Linked DNA regions of Homo sapiens: region 1 is linked to region 2. Evidence: promoter capture Hi-C in 16 types of primary human blood cells and fetal thymus (Javierre and others, 2016). All regions are on one chromosome and are shown on one strand. Each heading gives the region's core, a stretch centred on a gene start or on the middle of the fragment in contact. The rest is flanking DNA. Distances are from core to core; before and after follow the strand shown.

Evidence for each region. The method cuts DNA at HindIII sites, captures the fragments that hold promoters and counts their contacts. A CHiCAGO score of 5 or more calls a contact.
Region 1: a fragment that was not itself captured here is called in contact with the fragment with the promoter of PCBP3 in region 2 in 1 of 17 cell types (naive CD4 T cells); the score reaches 5.8 in naive CD4 T cells.

The regions. Positions count from the first base shown.
Region 1 is chr21:45,919,288-45,925,698 of GRCh38, reverse strand. The region is part of intron 13 of PCBP3 (poly(rC) binding protein 3); the gene reads right to left. Among named protein-coding and RNA genes, the nearest start is that of COL6A1, 59 kb to the left of the region's middle. RefSeq lists an enhancer at 6,025-6,411. The HindIII fragment of the contact is 185 bases long and covers 4,483-4,667 here.
Region 2 is chr21:45,638,620-45,645,055 of GRCh38, reverse strand. It overlaps PCBP3 (poly(rC) binding protein 3), which reads right to left and starts at 1,331. Exons shown (of 18, transcript NM_001384156.1): 1 at 1,188-1,331. RefSeq lists silencers at 677-816, 1,137-2,126. The HindIII fragment of the contact is 8,393 bases long and covers 1-6,169 here.

The DNA of each region.
Region 1 (6,411 bases), core at 3,326-5,825, 280 kb before region 2:
CCCCTACTGATGTTAATATTGGTACACCAGCTGATTTTGTTGCATATTCCTTAGCCTTTTCCCATTCTTTCATTTTTTCTGGGTTCTTATGCTTTAGGTGTGTCTCTTGAAAGAAAAAAAAACAAAAAAATTATTTTTTGCTTGTTTGCTTGCCTATTTGTTCAGCTTAAAAATATAGTCTGGCAGCCTTTGCTTCTTAACTGGAATTTCATAATTTTACTTTGATCACAATCATCCACATATTTAGACTAATTTTTGACACTTGTTTTCTAATTGTCCTGCTTTTCCAGAGTTTCTTTTTTATTTCACTCCTTTTCTTCTGTTGGATTAATAATTTTTCCCCTCACTTGTTTCCTGTCACAGAGGTTACATATCGGACTTCTTTGTTGTTAGTGGTCATTGAAACTTTAACATGTGCGTTGAGAGTCTACACTCAGTGTCTTCTCCCTCTAGTGGAATGAGACAGAGACCTGCGGGTGTTCGCATCTCCTCACGCACACCCGACCTTACGTGTGCTGTTTCTACCCACTCGACTGTTCCTGGTGTTCGCATCTCCTCACGCACACCCGATCTTACGTGTGCTGTTTCTACCCACGCGACTGTTCCCGGTGTTCGCATCTCCTCACGCACACCCGATCTTACGTGTGCTGTTTCTACCCACTCGACTGTTCCCGGTGTTCGCATCTCCTCGTGCACACCCGATCTTACGTGTGCTGTTTCTACCCACACGACTGTTCCCGGTGTTCGCATCTCCTCACGCACACCCGACCTTACGTGTGCTGTTTCTACCCACTCGACTGTTCCCGGTGTTCACATCTCCTCGTGCACACCCGATCTTACGTGTGCTGTTTCTACCCACACGACTGTTCCCGGTGTTCGCATCTCCTCACGCACACCCGATCTTACGTGTGCTGTTTCTACCCACTCGACCGTTCCCGGTGTTCACATCTCCTCGTGCACACCCGATCTTACGTGTGCTGTTTCTATCCACTCGACTGTTCCCGGTGTTCGCATCTCCTCACGCACACCCGATCTTACGTGTGCTGTTTCTACCCACTCGACTGTTCCCGGTGTTCGCATCTCCTCACGCACACCCGATCTTACGTGTGCTGTTTCTATCCACTCGACTGTTCCCGGTGTTCGCATCTCCTCACGCACACCCGATCTTACGTGTGCTGTTTCTATCCACTCGACTGTTCCCGGTGTTCGCATCTCCTCACGCACACCCGATCTTACGTGTGCTGTTTCTACCCACGCGACTGTTCCCGGTGTTCGCATCTCCTCGTGCACACCCGATCTTACGTGTGCTGTTTCTATCCACTCGACTGTTCCCGGTGTTCGCATCTCCTCACGCACACCCGATCTTACGTGTGCTGTTTCTACCCACGCGACTGTTCCCGGTGTTCGCATCTCCTCACGCACACCCGATCTTACGTGTGCTGTTTCTATCCACGCGACTGTTCCCAGTGTTCACATCTCCTCGTGCACACCCGACCTTACGTGTGCTGTTTCTACCCACGCGACTGTTCCCAGTGTTCACATCTCCTCGTGCACACCCGACCTTACGTGTGCTGTTTCTACCCACTCGACTGTTCCCGGTGTTCACATCTCCTCGTGCACACCCGATCTTACGTGTGCTGTTTCTACCCACTCGACTGTTCCCGGTGTTCGCATCTCCTCGTGCACACCCGATCTTACGTGTGCTGTTTCTATCCACTCGACTGTTCCCGGTGTTCGCATCTCCTCGTGCACACCTGATCTTACGTGTGCTGTTTCTACCCACTCGACTGTTCCCGGTGTTCGCATCTCCTCGTGCACACCCGATCTTACGTGTGCTGTTTCTACCCACTCGACTGTTCCCGGTGTTCGCATCTCCTCGTGCACACCCGATCTTACGTGTGCTGTTTCTATCCACTCAACTGTTCCAGGTCGAGTTTATTTGTATTATTTGTTTATCCTGTTTGGGAATTGTTGATGGTTTCTCTAATTTTGGAAGGTTCTCTGTGTGTCTCTTGGAATTTTCTCTCTCCATTCCATGTCTCCCCTGGGCTTCCAACTGGATGCATGTTCTTCCTTCTCAGGCCTCCTGACTAGTGTTTCTCAGACCTCCACGGGCCAGTGAGTCGCCCGAGGGTCCTGTAAAGATGCAAAGTCTCGTTCTGAGAAGGGCAAGCTGGGAGGAACAGCATGTGAGAGCCGTGCCACTGGGGCCCTGCAGAGGGTGCGGTGTTCCAAGCAAGGAAAGATGGAACTCCAGCCAGCAGTGAGGGTTGCCTGGGCCTCTTGTTTCATGAAAGGAGTGGCTGCAGTAGCACAGCTCTGACAGCAGGTGGGGCCATGGGCAAGCCGCTGCACCACTTGCAGCTGCAAGGTCTTGGAAGGTGCCAGGCTTCAGAGTGAGAGAGGCTGGGCCCCTCGGCATGTGCCCAGAGCATGCGGCATTGACTACTCTCTCACTACAGTGAGGGGACCCCTCACCCACCTCCCCACAGGGTTCCAGAGGGAGACACAGAACAAGTGGGAGGAGAAAGCACTCTGCAACAATCTGCCCAAATCTCTGCAAGTGCATGAGATTGTCACAAGAGCCCACGCGTGCCCTTCATGTGTCCAGGGGAAATGCGTGGCACCGACAGAGTCCCGGGGATTGCACAGCTGGGATGAAGGGCCGCATCCAGCACAGGATCTGGTCGTGCCTCCCATCCCTGGCTCCCACTTACAACGACACATTTCTACAATTTCCCCACGACTCTTTCACTGAAGAACCAGCTTCTTAGTAGACACTGGTGTCCGCTTGATTCCCAGCGTTGCTGCACATCTGCCACTCACGTCCAGCTGCCTGGGCGGCTGTGCCAAGCCCTCCCATTCCCTGGCTCATTAGCTCTGGCCAAGGCACCTCTCAGAGCTTCCACTTCCTCGTGTGTGGAACTGGCCCCACGGTCCTGAGATCTGCCTCACAGGGTTGGTGCAAAGGCTCATCTAAAATCGCCTACATGGCAAACTCTTCGTCAACTCTAACATGTTTTTATTTTTGCTTGCTTTCAACATCCCCTTTAAATGATGGGGACGTTAAGTAAGGGAGTGATTAGGAGAGCTGGAAGACTAGAAATAAAGATTTGTATATATGAGGGTATTTTTTCTTTTTTTGAGACAGGGTCTTGCTCTGTCGCCCAGGCTGGAGTGCAGTGGTGCAATCTCTGCTCACTACAGTCTCGACTGCCGGAGCTCAGGTAACTGCCCCACCTTAGCCTCCTGAGTAGCTGGGACTCCAGGTGTGTGCCACCACACCCAGTTAATTTCTGTATTTTTTTGTAGAAATGGGGTCTTGCTCTTTTGTCCAACCTGGTCTCCAACTCCTGGGCTCAAGCAATCCTCCCATCTTGGCCTCTCAAAGTGCTGGGATCGCAGGAGAGAGCCACTGTACCTGGCCTATGAGGGTATTTTTGAAGTTCACTCATTTCTTCCAGAAAAAACAATTCCTTCCTGGTGTAACTTCCCCGCTGTAATTAAAGGTGCAGACGTGCTGGGTGAGAGTCAAGCAGTCTGTCCAGGTGTGGGCGCTCTCGGCTCTGCTCTCAGGTCCCAGGTCTCAGGTGCTGTTTCTCTTTCTCATTTCTGAAACTGCACTTGGTCTGACCCAGGCAGGACACACAGAGGCACATGGATAGTCTCCAGGGCTGCCGAGTGGCCATACTGGAGAGCCTGACTTCAGTCCTCCTAAGTCCTTCACCCTGTCGAGCAGCTCTGTGCCTCTTCAAAACACCTGCACATCCAGAGCACAGTAAGCCTCGAGGAGGACGTGGGTAAAATGATGCATGTGGCGTGTGAGGAGCTGGAGAAAAGCAGGCGAAGGCAGATCAGTGCCGATGACTCCTTTTTTTTTTGAAACGGGTCTCGTTCTGTCGCCCAGGCTGGAGTGCAGAGGGATGATCTTGGCTCACTGCAACCTCCACCTCCCGGGCTCAGGCAATCCTCTCGCCTCAGCCTCCCGGGTAGCTGGGACTACAGGCGTGTGCCACCACGTCTGGCTAAATTTTTTTGTATTTTTGGTAGAGACGGGGTCTCGCCATGTTGGCCAGGCTTGTCTCAAACTCCTGAGCTCAAGCGATCCACCTGCCTCAGCCTCCCAAAGGGCTGGGATTACAGGCTTGAGCTACCACACCCAGCCTGAGCCACCATGCCCAGCCCAGATGATTCTTAAATAAGAACAAGCTAAAAACACTTTTTAAAACTGGGCACAGAAAACACATGCATATTTTAGTTTTACATAAAGAAATACTCAAACCTAAGGAATGTATTTTCTTATGCTTGATGTTTCTTATTCATGGGCCCACACATCCAGGTCAAATATCACGTTCCTAAAAAATGACTCTAGTATCTGTATATAAGCCGGCACTGTGGTATAAATAAACTTTGTATTCAATTACATTATAAATTAAAACAACATATTCTATAATTATATTGATATAGTAAGAAATTGAAGCTTTAAAAATTTCTACTAAATACCGATGCTTTAAAAATTTCTACTAAATACCAAGCTCAGATACAAATTGCTTCCTGACTATTGTTACCTATGTCACTAAACAATCATTTTATTTTTGTGTTTAATGATTAAGTGATTGTCCAAGTCTTCAATTTTACACGCCTGCAAGAAAAGCACCATGGAAGCTTCCAGTCTTCTATTAATAACAGCTGCTCTGCAAATCTCATGACACCGATGTAGAAACAGAATGTCTTCCACAGAGAGATACTTCACAGTAAAGAACCAAGCGCCTTAGTCCACTCCTGCTGCTATGACAAAATGCCTTAGACCGGGCAATTCAGAAACAGCATAAATGTGTGGCTCACAGTTATGGGGGCTGGAAACTGGAGATCAAAGTGCTGGCTGGTTTGGTGTATGGGAAGGGCCAAGTCTCTGCTTTCAATATGGTGCCTGAACGCTCTTGTCCTCACATGACAGGAGGGATGGAGGGGAGGCCACTCTCTGAAGCTTCTGTTATCTGAAGCCTCTGTTATCTGAGGCCTCTGTTATAGGGGCACCAATGCTGTTCACGAGGGTGGAGCGCTCATGACCCAATCACTCCCCAGCCCTGGGACCCCCCACCCTCTAATACTGTCACCTTGGTGATTAGGTTCCAACAGAGAAATTGTGGAGGAATAGACATATTTAAACCATAGCACCAGGTATCTCAAATCATTACCACATGCACTGAGGCAGTTCTCTTAACAGTTAGTTATACATTAAACTAATTTGAAACAATCTGCACAACTACCCATTTCTAAGAGATACTGAGAAAGTCACATGAGAAAGAGCAAAGCCACCAATCGAAGTAAAAGCCAATCACCAAACATCAGGGTCCTGCAGTCCCACCGTGGCACACAGCCACGGCCTCTGGAAATTTCAGACCACAAGCATTCTGGCTCAGACGGGTGCTCAGCCAAAGGCCACAGTGAGAACGTTAGGCTCTGTGGCCACAGGAAATCCGTAAGGTGTCACCAGAGGGTCCCTGCAGGTCTGAGCATCCAACTTCAGGGCGACTGTCTGGGGTAAACACAAACCCTGACCCCATCGACTAACCTTCCCTTTACCAAGGGCACCGCACACTGCCTTTCCTTTGGGTTCCAGAGCTTTGCAAAGTCAAGTGACCCCCCCTTTGGAACCTGCCTCTGCACACGTGCATCTCTAGATGTGCGTGACCACCTGTCCTGAGTCCTTAATGGAACTGGGCCACCCCAGAAAGTCGCCTCTGACTCCCCTGGCTTCCATCTTCATCTTCCTTCACACAGGCTTTCTGTTAGGACACATCACACCTGCCCCCCACACCCCTGCCACACACATGCACGGGGACGCGCACGCGCGCGCGCACACACACACACACACACACACCTCTGCTTCTGCCCAACGCTGCTGCTGGGCGCAGGCTGGGGCAGCCCCAACAGTGCCTTCCGGTGTGTGGTGGCCACAGCCCGGCTTCCTAGTGGGGTCAGGCACTGGTGTCTACAGCTGACCCCAGGATGAGATGTCCTTGATGTAGCTACAGCAGCATCACCAAAGGTCTGACGCCAGGAACCACTAAAAACGGCCTCTGGGGCAGGTGGGGAAAGGCTTTTCTTGATCAGCGTTTCTCTACCATTTGATTCATGTGTTGCCTTTAATGGAATAACTATTGTTATCTATTCTCCATTCAATATAAATTTTCCTGCAATGATAGTAAATTGCATCTCTATATCAAAGATTTATTTAATGTTCATTAACTCTTAAAAACACTCCTGACCTGCCTTCTCATCTCACTCAGATGGACGTCCTTGCCCCCAACTCAAAAGCATCAGGGTTTGCAGAAGGCTCTGGAGCAGCCCGCTCACCTGGCGGCCACCTCCCAACCAGCTCAGAGGCGCCTCTCGCAGTTCAGAGGG
Region 2 (6,436 bases), core at 82-2,581:
ACACTCCTTTTGGGGCCAAAATAGGTATCTCTGACACGCTTTAAGATGATGAATTATTCTTGAATATGAGGAGGACTGGGAGTTAGTTCTCTTAAATAGGGAAGCACCCTTGCACACTCCTTTGGGATCCACATCTGAGAAAGTCCAAAGAAAAGAAAAAGGGCAACAGTTTGCCCCTGAAAGTGAGTTCAATTTCAGAGGGATATGTGAGGGCCTGTGCCAGAGGAATATTTTTGAAATGGGGGGAGTCTATAAGTTGCCCAGTCTAATCTCTAAAGGCCTCTCCGCAAGGCCCTGCTGCTCAAGATTCCTTCTGGCGAATCCCACTCTACAAACACTCAACAACTAAGAGTGCTACTGGCTCACATGGAGGGCTAACAAGACCTGCAAATCCAGGCTGCTCTGAAGGACGGTGGAAGATAACCAACCCCGAGCCACGAGATTTAGGACCCGACTTTTGGTTAACTTTCAAATTTCTTATGCCAGTAATATACTTCAGAGTGGCGCGGAGGGAATTGGAAAACATCACCAGGCAAAAAAAAGAAAAAAACTCTTTCACGAAACAAGACTTCCAATTAGAACACGTGTGGGGACAATAAGAAACACGTTCTAACCACCCCCAAAATTAAAATAAAACACAGCGAGCAACAAGAGAGACCTGCGCGCGCCCCACCGCCCGCGCGCGGCTCTCCGCAGGGTCACCGAGGGGTGAGGCCGCGCTCTCCCGGCGGCCGTCCAGGGGGAGGAGGCCCCGCGCCCCGCCCCGCCGCCCTCCAGCCGCCGCGGCCGCTCCGGGGTGTTCCCCAGATCTCTTCTCAATCAAGAGATGAAATTTGTGCCGTTTTGAAACTGAAGCCTCAAGTAGTCCAGACGTTTTCTGACCCACATCCGAGACGTTCTCGGCTTCCCGCCGCAACTTCCGAATTTGGGGAGGGGGCGGAGGCGGGCGGGCCAGGCCTGGCGACCGCACCTTGAGGGAGCGCGAGTCCCCTCGCTGCCCCGGGCCGCCGCAGGCGCCGGCGGCGGTCGGGGACGGCGCGACCCAGCCCGGGACCCCCGCCCGCCCCGGCTCGGGCGAAGTTTGCCGCGGCCCGGGGTCGCCCCGTCACTCGGCCTCCGTCGGGGACTGGGTCCCCGTAACCCGCAAGGGCGCCCGACCCCGACCCCGCCCGCCACCGCTCACTCACCTGCCCTGCGCCGGACGGCGAGCCCGCGGGCCGGCGGGGAGAGGCCGGGAGGCCCGGGCGGGGTCGGGGCGAGGCGGGTGAGGAGGCGGCGGCGGAGCCTAAGTCAGCCGAAGCGGCGGCGACCGCGGCTGAGGCGGCTGAGGCGGCGGTCGCGGCTTCAGGCGCTCCAGCCCGAGCGCTGCGCGCGGCGCGGGCCCGCCCCTCTGCGCCGCTAACCAATCTAGCGCCGCGCGCCGCCGCCGGCCCCGCCCCCGCCCAAGGGCAGGCTCGCGAAAGCGGGCGCCGCGGGCCAATGAAAGGGCGGAACATCAACCGGCGCGGCCAATCCGAGCCCGGAAAGTTCTCTGGAAAAAGCCAACTCCAGTCAAAGGGGCGGGGGTGGGGCTGGGGGCGGGGCGGGGACCTGGCCCAATGACGCGCGGGGCGGGGCCGAGCATTGGGCGGGGAGGAGGCGGGGCCTCGAACGGGCGGGCCGGTCACTAGTAGTGGGCGGGGTCGTAGGCGGGACATTGAGCGGGCGGGGCAAGAATCGGGGCGGGGGCCTAATGAAGTGAAGCGGGGAGGGGACGGGCAGTGGGAGGGGCAGGTCACATTTGGGGTGGGGTGGGGGCGGGGCAGGGGCGGGGCTGAGTACGGGAGGCCAGGCCGGGGAGAGGCCTAAGTCGGGGCGGGCGGGAGAAGGGCAAGAGCAGTGGGCGGGGCTCGGGGGTTAGGGGATTAGTGCCCTTGCTGGGGCGGGGCCCAGGCTTGGGGCGGGCCTGTGGTGGGCAGGGCCGTGGATGGGCGGGGCGAGCCTTCGTGGGCGGGCCAGGCCTGTGGTGGGCGGGGCGGGCCGTTGGTGAGCGAGACCTTGGTGGACGGGGCGGATCCGCGGTGGGCGGGGATTTGGCGGGCGGGCGGGTGGGCCCGACGGGACGGGAATGGCCGTTGAATTCCCAGCCGTGCCGCAACCCCGAAGGTCCCCCTGCAGCGCCCGCTTCCCGTTCTCTGTGGGCCTGGCCCCGGCCCGGAGGCTGGGGCCGCAGCGCCCGGCGGGCAGGGGCCCCGAGCGGCTCGTGAGCCTGTGCCCAGACGCTGCCCGCCCCGCGCTGGTCCCGCCGCCCTGTCCCCTCCGCCCGCCCGGCGTTCGCGTGCCGTGGCCTGGGGCGGGGCGTTGCTGGGCCCCGGGGGCTGCAGGGGGAGGCCGCCCTTTCTCTGGGCTGGCTCCGGGCTGTTCCGCTCCGCGCCGTTTTCCCGGTACTTCCCGCGGAGCCCGCCTCGCTGTGCGTCCCCGCCCGGGCGTTTCTTCCGCGGCGCTGAGCGCCCGCCCCGGCCTCGGGCAAGGGCAGCCGGACGCCCCGAGGACCAGGGCGCTGGGGCCGAGGCGCGTCCTCCGCAGTCGCCGCGCCTGGGCCCCGTTTCCCCGCGGGTCCTCGCCGGGGTGGGAGGCGCCTCTTGGCGTCCGTGGGGAGCTGGGTGTGGGGGGCGGCAGGGCAGGAGGTGGGGGGGCTGAGCCGGAGAAACGTCCTCGCCCCGCCCGAGACCTCAGACACCCCAGAACCTCGGGCCGGCAGCCAGCTGCAGGAATCGCGCCCTAAAGCCTGGGGTCCGCGCCCGCCCGCCTCCCGCGAGCGCCAGGGGCTGCCGGGTCACCGGGATGCAGCCTCGAGGCGACGTCACAGACCCCACGCGGCCCCCCGAGCACCCCCGGAGCCGGCGCGGGGACAGGGGTTCGGGATGGACGGAACCCACGCAGGGAACGTTCCGGGCCGTCTACGCCAGGCTCAGGGCGGCCGTCAGCTGGGGTTGGAGGTGGGTCAGGAAGAGATGTGTCCTTTTGTCTCCAAATGTCGCTTGTGTCATTAAAAGACAACCTTAAAATAGAAGAAAAAAAAAAAAAAAAAGCCTGGGCTGGCGTGAGGAGGGGCCGTCCGCGAGCTACGGAGGCTGAGTCGGCGGGGAAGGGAATGTGGAGTGGGGCGGGGGGGGCGCTTGGCGAACCCGTGCTTTGGACGCGCTTGGCGGTTTCGGGGAGAATGAGAATGGAGGGGAGGGAGGCCAAGGCCTGCAGCCTGGTGGGAATGCTGGGAAGGACGCTGTGGACAGGACCTTACTGGAAATGAACCAGAAGGGAAGGTGGGCCGGGCGCGGTGGCTCGCCCCTTAATCCCAACGCTTTGGGAGGCCGAGGCAGAAGGATCGCTTGAGCCCAGGCGTTGGAGACCCGCATGGGAAACATCGTGAGACTCTGTTTTTAGAAAAGGAGGAGGAGAAGGGATACTGGGCGGCCTCTGCCACACCTGGACTCTGCGGGCAGGGGGCCAGAGGGACCCAGGGCTGCTGTGCTGGAGCTGGAGCTGGCGCGAGGGTCTGGGCAGAGCACTGTCAGCGCCCCCAGATTACAGGCTGCCAGCCTCCCCCGGTCCTCTGCGGGAGCCTGCGGCCTCAGCTGCCTGCCCCGCCGGCTGAAAGACACAGTTAGTCATTAGGAAAGTAATGATAGTGTTTTCAGGGCAGCGTGTTAGACCCTAAAGACTTTCTATTATTTGCAGTTCCTGCCAACCCTGTGAAGAAAAAAAGCAGCTCATCTCTCACGCCCCGCCTCTTGACACACGCTGATCCGGCCTGGTTCTGGGTTTTCCCGGAGCCTGCAGGGCAGCCCCGCCCCAGGCGGCAGCAGCTGGGCCTGCAGCGTGTCCCTCATGGTGCCCGGCCTCCAGGTCCAGAGTTTCCTGCCTCCCTGAGCTCGGGGTGCGCTGTCTCCACCCTCTCATGGCCGTCAGGGTGCTGGTCCCGTCAGAAGTGCACCCAGGGGCTCGCATTTATAAATAACTCCAGGGTGTCTTGCTGTGGGTTTGGAAATCGGGAAGGCAGGTTATCATCTGCTTGGAATGATGTCAGATCCAGCCCCAGGAAGTCTCCCAGCACCCGGCCTTCCTGCTTGTCATGGGCTGGGACATCTGGAGGGGTAGGGGCGAGGGCCTTCTGTAGCTCCACATTAGCTGGCTAAAGTGTGGGGAAAACAGTAACACACAGAAAGCAATCATAATAGTAATTAACGTCAAAACCTTGCAAGATGTTTAGGCCTCCCAGGAGCCCTGGAGAAGCCCAGCCCTTCCACATAACACCAGCACTCCCAGCGGCAGGGCCTCCATCCCCCTGCTGGGGAGGGAGATCCGGAGTCTGGGTGGAGTGTGTGGTCTCTGGCCTTCAGCAGGACTACACTCCAGGCTGAGCCTTTCCTCAGGCAGAATTCATACCCTTACCTCAGCCTACAACCCCAGCACACATGTTACCTAGGGGCAAATTAGTACTTTGCCCTCATGTCCTCTTCACAAAGCACTGGGGTAGAAGTCCTTCTTCCAGGGACCAGCAGCACCCAGCCCCTGCTTCCCCAGGCTCCTGCCCTGCACAGGGACCGCTGCCACTGCCCACCAAAAGCTGCTGGGGGGTGTTGGGGCTGGCTCAGCTGAGCTCACACAGGATCCTCTGATGGCCAAAGTGCTGGAGTGGAAATCAGAGACCAAGAAGCCAATCCCTGTGCCAGCTGCCCTGGTTAGGGAAATACAGAAACTAAAAATAGTTCCCACTTCCGCTTCCTCCTTTTTATATCAGCCTCATCATAAGTGCACCTGACCTAACTTACCTGGTGCTGTGGTGTTTGTACTTGGATTAGGTGAAGCAGCTCAGGGGTCCCCTCATGCCCTCTCCCCTGTCCCCCTGCTGAAGAGGCAGCTCCCACATGCGGCACTGCCTGACTGGCCCCTGGCCTGGGCCTGGGACCCTGCAGAGAGACAGCAAGCCATGGCCAGAAGGCTTGCAAGGTGCCCCCAGCTTGGGTGATGGTGACACCCAGAACAGGGCACTTCCTGGAAATGTGATCTGGAAGGGCAGTGGGCATGAGTGGAGCATGGAAAGAGACACCCAGGACGGACGGAGAGAGGCATCTGGTGTAGGTGGGGCTGCAGCCACCTCTCCTCTTCGGGGCTGGCAAGGTAACCCTTGCCCTGTGCCCCACAGCTGCCCTGATTTCCGGGTGTCTCCCAGAAGCACACTCTGCACTGCTTCTGCATCCCGGCCACTCCTTCAGTGTCCAGCCCCCTTCCCCAGCATAGAATGAACACAGAGAGGATGGGGAGTGCCTGCTCTGCCGACATGAGGGGCTGGCAGTGACATCTGTCCCTGTCATAGGCACAAAAAGTTATCAATGTTGGTAAGCTGGATTCAAGCCATGCACGGAAGCAGATGGCTCTGCCCCAAAGGGTAAAACATCCTGGAAGTGAATTGGATGGAGTCTCACATAGAGCAGCCCATCGGCTTCTCTGGCAGTGTGCCCTGGTTTTAGCAGAAAATAATCACAGGGTCTCTAATATCTGGCTGTGGAGAAGCACCCAGAACTCCCCCAGTTGCCCTCATGATCCCTAATGGACGAGGGATGGGTCCTGTGTCCTCTCAGCTCTTCACGCTAAGAAGCAAATGAATCCTTGGCCTGCCCCTCAGACTGGCATCTCCACAACTGGGATAGACATCTCAGGCCCTGGGGTCCATGAGTCACTGCTGACAGAGAGAGAGAGAAAGAGAGAGACAGAGACAGAGAGGGAGGAAAGAGCTCCTGCTGCCACCCTGGCGCCCTCAGGTGCCTCTCAGCCCTGGGGAGCAGTCCTCCTCTGCTCTGGGCCCCTCCCCCACTGCACACAGAGCACTCCCCCCTTGTCTTTTTTATATGTAAGTTTTCTTATATTTTGCATAAAGAAGAAATGCACACACCTCACACATGCACCAGAAACGTCACGGGTCATCCAGACCTTCCTTTTATTTTGGGAAGACTTTCAGCTCAGAGGTAGCCAGAATTCCGCCCCTTCTCTGTGTGCCTCAACGGGCACCATTAAGACTCTAAAATTAGAACAACTCTTTGTTTTGGTGCCGAGCCACCACGTCACTCCCACCCTCCCTCCAACCTCTGCTGGGTTCTCAGGAAGAGACTGGAGGGGGAAATGCAAAGCTTCCAAATCCCACAAAGAAAGCCCACCAGCTGCTGGGCAGACCAGCACAGGTGGGGCGTGCTGCAGATGCCCTTGCTTTGCCTACCGACAAGTAACACCTTAAGACTGACTTTATATCCATTTGCTGCTTTTTTATTAGGGCCACCTGAAACCTCTCTGTTGACATGAGTAATCCTCTGTAATATCTGTAGAGTGTAGAGATGGATTTAAACATGTGGAGCTGTTCAGCAGAGTATTCCCGTAAGAGAAAGAGAGTGGTGGGACAGGC